Linked DNA regions of Homo sapiens: region 1 is linked to region 2. The links are contacts of gene promoters, found by promoter capture Hi-C in human tissues and cell types (Jung and others, 2019). All regions are on one chromosome and are shown on one strand. The core of a region is centred on a gene start or on the middle of the fragment in contact, and the rest is flanking DNA. Distances in the headings are between cores, read along the strand shown.

Region 1 (3,852 bases), core at 1,047-3,546, 200 kb after region 2:
TATGGCTGGGGATCTTGTTCACCACCCCTTGCCCCAACCTCATCCTGGCCAACCAGGCCCTCTCAAGAGGAAGGGAAGGGAAGGTCTCCATCAGTGGGGTGATGGGCAGCAGATTCAAGGGAGCCCAGAAAGCCAAGAGCAGCAACCCCTCCCAGCCCAGGACTCCTCCCACCCACGCTAGGAGTAACCAGAAGGGCTGGCTAGCCCTGTCCCAGCTCTCTCTGCCTGCCCCAGGCATAGGAGAGTGTGGCAGGAGAGCCTTATTCTAAAGAAGAGGAAGGCGTCAGTTACCAGGACTCAAAAGCAGGGCCCCCAGAACCTGGAGCACCCAGACATTGAAGGAAACAGGACTTCCTGCTTAGGGAAGATAGTAGCACCCAGGACAGGGACACCCAGAGGTGGCTGGAGCCGGGAGCTGGGGAGCCAGCTCCCAGCACCATTACAGCCTCCAACAAGTAGGAAGCAAAGTATCAGACACAGTCAGAAAATCCTCAGTGCAATTCCCAGAACCCTCCAAGGCAATAAGAGAGGAGATCTGGGATGGGGACAAATGTCTTTTTTTCTTCTGAGATTCAGGTGATACAAGGTCCTCCTAATGTCTAACTTCAATCCTTCATGCTTTAGCCCCCCTCCTTGCAATTCACTTCTCTTTTCCGTTCTCTCCCAACCAGCACACCCATGTATCATCCCACAAACCTTATGGAGCACCCACCAAGCATGGGGTACATGAGCTTCACCCAGAGCCAGGACTGTCTTCCCCAGACTCACTCTGCCCCTCCCTCAAAGGCTGCACTCTGACCTCCTAGCCCTCTGAATCTGAAGGAGGAAAAGAGCCTAACCCTGGCTCCAGGTTCCATTTCCTGAGCCCAAAGGCTGTGGGGATGGGGGGACCTTGACCAAAGGGAAGAAAGCAAGGTCTGCTTAGTGTGCAGTGAAAAAGCCAATGGCTGGCCCAGGAGCACCCTGGATGAAGTGTGAGATGCCAGCTTCCCTGAGACCCAGATATCAGACCTGCCCACCCTCCTGTTCTTTCCTGCCCTTCGAGCCCAGTCATGCTGGAGCCCATCAGCATGGCCTGGGAGCTGCCATGTGCCAGCCAGGCCCCATGCTAGGTGTTGGCTGAACCCTCTCATTTGAAGCCAAGTCCAGGAAAAATGTGAACACCTACTTTGGCATCTTCTACTTCCCCTCAGGGTTGACCCTGCCTTCTCTGGCCATTCCATTCTAAGCCTTCAATCTCTTTGGAATGATAGAGCAGGGAAGAGGAGGGGAGAAGCAGGTCCCGCTCTGCAGTGAGCACAGAGGTGTGCCAGGGGGCATCTCAGTAGAGAAGGGAGGCCAGGAGTCTACTTCTCAGACCCCAGCCCCATGCCAGGATTGACCCACTTTCTCACTGCCTGCCTTCCCTGGGGGCTCTGAAGGAGGCAGAGCCCAAGGCTGGAAGGCAGGACACCGAGGTTCCTGGCTCCACCCCACACCCATGCCCCAGTTTCTCTGGTCACCCAGAGAGCAGGCGTGGGGGGGGGGGGCTGCTGCCCTCCATCCTGGAAAAGGGAAAGAGAGAAAGTGTGAAGGTTCTGGGAGGCGCTGGGCAGGCAGGTGTTGTCATGAAGCTTGTCTCCCTCCCACACTGGGGAGAAGGATCCTGGCCGCCTCCTCCATGGCCCCGCTGCCACCCAGACTGGCTTGCACAGTGGGCCTCACTCTTGCCTGCTCTTCTGGGCAATGGCACAAAGAGGGTACAACCAGAGCTGGCCTGGGTCCCAGGCCCCTGGGCAGCTCCTCCAACCTGGTTGGGCCGAGTCTGAGCTGAGGGAAAGTTCTGTCAGCCTTTCAGCCCCACTGAGGAGAACATGCAGAAGCAAACAGTTCCAGAAAAATAAAGACAGCCTTAATCCTCAAACCCCCTTTTGCCGGAAGAAAAGGCAGAGATCAGGGAATGGTCTCAGGGAAGCAGGCAACCCCATCAATAGCCTCCGCCTGTGATTCCAAGACTGCAAAAGAGGTAAATAAAGTCAAAGGCTGGTAGGCAGCCCGAGCCAGAGGGAAGTCATCAGCTCCCACCTTCCTGGGCAGTGGGCCCCAGAAGGAAATCACTCACAGTCTCCACCTGCTGCCCCTCACCAAAACAGTCTCTCTTGCTAACATGTTCACTGTGAGGACCAGGGATGGCCCATCTCATATTTTCTTCTGTCTTCCACAGGCTGAGCCTGTTGGTGATACTCAGTGAGGACTTGCCAAACTGAAAAGCTCCTACGCTGAGAGGACTTGAGGGGAACCAGAAGCTCTGCCCCTTACAAAGCCTACTGTCCTTTACTCTGGGGAAAGAGGAGCAAGTGTTCAGGGAAGTGAGGAAAAGGTGGGAGGCGCTCAGGGGCTGCAGCAGACCCTGGGGACTAACCATTTCCTTCCTTCCCACCTCTTATCTCCTGCCCCATGGCCCATACCTTTCCTTCTTGGGGCTCTCTACAGGGAAGTGGACACCCGCGTGCTCTGGCTTCAATCGGTGGTCTCACTTTACTTCCGCCGAGTTCCAAGGCATGTGGTTTCCAGGCTTCTGCCAGGCGCTGGGCACCCCAGCCCTAGCCCAGATGCCAGCCCAAGCTCTGGGAATAGCAGACGCTAGGCCCCTCAGAAAGGAAGAGCTGGGGGGAGGCTGACTATCTCCCTGGCCCAGGGCAGCTGGAACCCCACAACTGGGAAAGCCAGTCCAGAACCCCAGGAACACTCTGCAGGAAGGGCCTCAAGCAAACATCCCCAAGCAGTGGCCCCAGTTCCAAAGCCTCTCAACAATCCTAAAATGAGGTTCCCAATCCCTGGCCCCCTCCTTTTTTCCTTCTTTCCCCAACACAGAGAAGACAGCATCTCCCCCTGCTGGGGGGAGCTGGAAAGCCAGGCAGGACGCGGGGCCCATTCCACAGGCCCACTCAGGACGCCCCTCCTGGCCAGGGCTCAGCAGTGGCTCTCAAGCTGCCAGCCTCCTGCGTTGGTGGACACGTCCAGCTCCTCCAACACTCTTGTCAGCTCCCACAGAGGTAGCTGCAAGGGAAACTTGGACCGCCAGCATCTGGAAAGGTAACCCAATAACTTCATCTATCCTGGGTTGATTATCACATTTCCCTGCAAGGGAAAGAAACCCCAAAGCTGGGAAAAATCCTTTCCAAGCCACCAACAGATGCCGCTAGGCAGCTTCAATTCCCTTGGCCAAGAGTTAGACCCCAGCCCCATGGGAAGCAGGGACTGCAGATGGCTCCTGGACAGGTCAGCGTCACAACTCAGAGGAAAGAAGTAGCTGGCACTACTGCCCGACATGGCTGAGCTTGCTGGGGTAGTGTCCAGCCAAGATGCACGAGGGACAGATGAGGACCCAGGCCTCTCCTTTCCCTTCGCCATCCAGCCTCAGAGGGGCAAGCAAGAGGGCAGAGCTGGGCAGCCCACCTGTCCCAGCCCCTAGGGGCTGAATGAGGGCAAGGGCAGAGGGAGGAATATCTGAAGGAGAACAGCAAACCCTACAGAAAGGATGATGGGGAAGAAAATGTGGGGTGGTCTGGATTCCTCCCTGATGCTGCTTCTGTACAATCCTGCAAATGGGTATTCATCCTAGGCCCCAATTGCCCTATCTCTAAAAGGAGAAATATCCACCTACCCCTACATAAAAAAGATGAGGAGTACGATGGGCCGTGGAGAGCTAAAGTTGAGCAAGATGGACCTTTAACACTGTGTGGAAGGAGACACCCGAGGAGGAGGAGACGACAGCCACTACTCTGACCACACTGCCCCAGGACCCTCCTGGGAAACTGCTGAGGGTCCAGCTCAGGCCACTAGAACACAGCCTCACAGGCATACATCCAG
Region 2 (3,973 bases), core at 1,473-3,972:
AAAGAAATAAATTCCTGGAAACAATTTGTAATCTTTCTTGCTAATCCTTAGCTGCTCATCATGGCTGAGTCTAATCTCGAAGGCATCTAGACTTGATTAAGATACCTTTACTAATGCACCCTAAATCTGTTATTAGCTTGACATCAGACACAGGACTTGAGGACAGCTTAGCAGCTCTTGACAGCAGCTGGCAGGAATTATGTAATGTGAGAGTCTTCTGGCTTTCAGAGACCACTTTCCTCCTCCAGGGCAGAAAACTCAGCTGTTTGGCCTTGGTTTTTGCGTCTGTAAAATGGGAGGTTGGGGGATAGGAACTAGATTACTAACTTCCCTTCAAAATTCATCCATCTAAAGAGACAACTTTGCACTCTGCTCATAAAAAAGATAAAAATCTTTCCAACAGGGATTTCCAAGAAGTGGCCTCTTGGTAGATATTTCTTGAAATATTATTCCATTCAATAAATATCTATTCCCACCTGACTGAAGTTCTTCGAGGACAACAATTATATCTTAGTGATCACTGTAACTCCAGCACCTAGTTCAGTGCTGGCCATTGAGTAGGTGCTCAGTATTTTTTAATTAATTAATTTTGAGATGGGGGTCTCAGTAGTTTCCCCAGGCTTAATCTTGAACTCCTGGTCTCAGGGAATCCTCCCACCTCAGCTTCCTGAGTAGCTGGGACTACAGGTGTGCATCACCACACCTGGCTCTAGGTGCTCAGTTAATACAAGGTGCAGAATCTCTGGGAGGCAGGGCAACACAATAGTGGTTTGTAACGTTCCCCAGGTGATTCCCATATACAGCCAGGCGAGGCCTGCCCGGCAACTACATGCAGAGAGGACCCCCGAGGCCTCTTTCCTCAGAAGGTAGCTGTGGTCATGGAGGGCACTCAGGGTGGCAAGGCCTGCTCCTGAAAAAGCCGTGAAAACCCAGAGGAGATGGAAGAGAAGAGGCCACCAACAAAGGATGGCCCCAACAGTGCTTCCCAGTGCCCACCCTGCAAAAGGGGCTTCTGTTTAGTACTAAGGACATGGAGTTCAGAGAGGCTGATAACTGGCCCCCGACCACACCCAGCCAGCAGCTCCAGGGTCTCTAGTCCTCACAGTCCCTGGCATTGCATCTGAGAGTAGGGGCAGAGCTAATGCCATCAGTAGGAGTCACTTTTGTCCCCTAACTTAGGGGAGACTGTCCTGTCCTTACAAAGGAATGTGTAAGCACAGCTGATCAACATCTGCATAAGGAAAGATGTTTCTTTATGCATTTCTGGCTCCATCGAGACTCGTGACTCAACCAGTCCTGTGGCTGCCAACCAGAAGCAGACTCAGCATTCAAGGACCATTTTCCATACCCCTATATCTGCATGCCCAACCAATCAGCAGCACCTCTACCCTACCCTAGACCCTGCCCACCAAACTATCTTTGAAAAACTAATCTTCAAGTTTTGGGGGAGACCGATTTGAGTAATAACTATTTCCTGTGTGCCCGGCCTTGTGTCAATTACTCTTTCTTTACTGCAATGCCATGGTCTCAGTGGATTGGTTTTGTCTGTGCAGTAGGCAGGAAGAACCCATCAGGTGATTACAGTACCTGCACCCCCAACCTGCTTTGGGAAGAATCCAGCCAAAAAACTTGAGGCCTGCAGCCTCAGGGTGAGAACAAGACAAAAGGGGGATGGAGGGAGATTGACTCGCTGTGTCTCAGCTCCAGAGCAGCCCCCCTGCAGCCTCCCAAGGGTTTATGCAAATCATCAAAGGGATTCCTTGAGGCAAAAGGTTTGAGTCTGCAGTTCTGAGACCCCCAAGGATGTGAGGAGAGACCCAGGCCTATCTCCTTTGGGAGGGGCCCCAAACTTGGGGGAAGGGATACTGGATGCCAACTGAAACCCAAACATAAAATTCTAAGCTCACCCAACCATCTGAATGGACTCCTCCTCTCCACTCAGCAAAGGGCATTCCAAAGTTAACCTGAAAACTAGTTCAGGCCATGATGGGAAGGGGAGCCCAGTCATGCCTAATTATACGATCCCTCCTTTTGGACTTACTGATAGAACAGACTCTTTAAGTCTGAAAGGAAACATTTACAGTCTATTCTCTCTGAAGCCTGCCACCTGGAGGCTTCACCTGCGTGATAAAACCTTGGTCTCCACAATCTCTTATCTTAACCCAAACATTCCTTTCTGTTGATTTTAAGTCTTTAGACAGTAATTTAACTCTTTCCACCAATTGCCAATCAGAAAATCTTTCGATCTACTTATAACCTGGAAGTCGTCCACTTCCCCAACCCCATTCCAGTTGTCCAGCCTTTCCAGATCAAACCACTGTACATGTCGCATATATTATTGATGTCCGATGTCTCCCTGAAACACATAAAACCAAGTTGTGGCCTGATCACCTTGGGCACATGTTCTCAGGATCTGCTGAAGGCTGTCATGGGCCATTGGTCATGCATAGTAGGCTCAAAATAAATCCCTTCAAATATTTTACAGAGTTTGACTCTTTTGGTTGACACACCAAGCTCAAGCAGGAAGAACCGGGCTCAAGAACTGTCTCTCTCCTTTCTCTCTGTTAGGCATGGGGGGGAAGGGAGTGTTGTGTTAGGCATGCGGAGGGGAAGGGAACAGGGTTGTGTGCAGAGGAAAATGCAAATTCTTACCTTGTCAGGGTCTCTGACCTGATGGCGACCCGTGGTGGAGTCTTCACAGAGACAGATACCACTGCAAGGGCAGACCCAGACTGTGCAACCCCCAAAGCAGGTCTCCTCACTCACCGGGATAGATAGAACTATCGGCCCCAATTCCTCAGCCCTACCTGCAACCACCGCTTGCCATGGTTTCCTTGTGGGTGGAGGGTACTTTCCCGCCCCCTGGTTTCGGGCTTGCCCACGTGGCTTGCTCTGGCCATGGAATGAAGCAGAAACGAAAGCCTGCCAGTTCTGAGCCTACGCCGGAAGACGCCTTGGGCGGTTCCGCGGTCCCTGTGCGCTTCCACCTTCACCCAGAAGGACTTCTCTGGTGCAGCCGCTGCTTCTTCAGCCACGGCCCAAAAGGATCGGAGCCCCCTGGCCGATCCGCAGGTCTGCAGGGAGCCACAGAGCGCAGCGGCCGGCCCAGCGTTCAAGCCCAAGCACAGGCCTGCGAGAACCTTGTTCCAGCCACCGTTTGGGATGGTTGATTAGGACTTGTTGCTGTGGCGGTAGCTCACCAATCCAATGCGTGCACCCGCTCCTTTATTAGGCTATAGGGCCAGTGGCTGCGACAGGGACCTGATACAACAGTGCGTTAAATAAGGAGCTTATTGAGCTATCATGTCGTAAGCCGGTGGAGAAGTCCAGGGCTAGTGTGGGGGCTCCGGCGGGGGCTGTGGCCCCCATCCGCATGGAGCCTCCCCACGGTTCACAGGTCTCGGTCTTCGGAGCCTTCAGCCCCGTGAGCCCGAACAGTCCACACGGCGGCGCCAGACCCTCTTCCCAACGCCACCCTCTGAAGCCTCCGCTCCAACCGTCTCCACTTCTGCTTCAGGCTCAGGATTTTCACTTTTCTCGAATGGGGGTGGCCCTCCCCTGATCTTCTGAGTCGCAACAGCATCTCCCTCCCTCCAGGACCTCAGAGCCAGAGCTGGGCGAGAGGCCCTGACCTCCGGGGTAGGGTGGCAGCATCCCTGTGAAGGTGCGGTCCTGCCTCCCATCCCCAGGCGCCCGGCCTCTCCCACCCTCAGCGCCCTGCTCACCGCCAGCTGAAGATGCCAGGGCACCTCTGCTTCCTCCCTGCCCTCTCTGCAGTATCGCAGAGTGAGCATAAAAGGGCTTAATATAGGCTTCACTGGTCGTGGTGGCTCGCGCCTGTGAACTCAGTAACTTGGGAGGCCAAGGCCGGAGGATCACTTGAGGCCAGGAGTTCAAAACCAGCCTGGGCAACAAGGTGAGGCCTGTCTCTAAAAAAAAAAAAAAAAAAAAAAAAGAAAAGAAAAGAATAAAA

The links. The method cuts DNA at HindIII sites, captures the fragments that hold promoters and counts their contacts. A contact is called where the count stands out against the background at its distance.
Region 1: a fragment that was not itself captured here is called in contact with the fragment with the promoter of FAM215A in region 2 in 1 of the 25 tissues and cell types used here (IMR-90 fibroblasts).

The regions. Positions count from the first base shown.
Region 1 is chr17:44,112,921-44,116,772 of GRCh38, forward strand. All of the region lies in intron 2 of HDAC5 (histone deacetylase 5), which reads right to left. LOC105371789 (a long non-coding RNA gene) reads left to right here and starts at 2,992. Exons shown (of 3, transcript NR_136415.1): 1 at 2,992-3,075. The HindIII fragment of the contact is 6,162 bases long and covers 1-3,852 here.
Region 2 is chr17:43,914,486-43,918,458 of GRCh38, forward strand. FAM215A (family with sequence similarity 215 member A) reads left to right here and starts at 2,723. Exons shown (of 1, transcript NR_026770.1): 1 at 2,723-3,502. It overlaps LOC105371787 (a long non-coding RNA gene), which reads right to left and starts at 2,739. Exons shown (of 2, transcript XR_001752898.2): 1 at 2,653-2,739; 2 at 1-285. RefSeq lists enhancers at 2,545-3,366, 3,367-3,973. The HindIII fragment of the contact is 7,093 bases long and covers 1-3,973 here.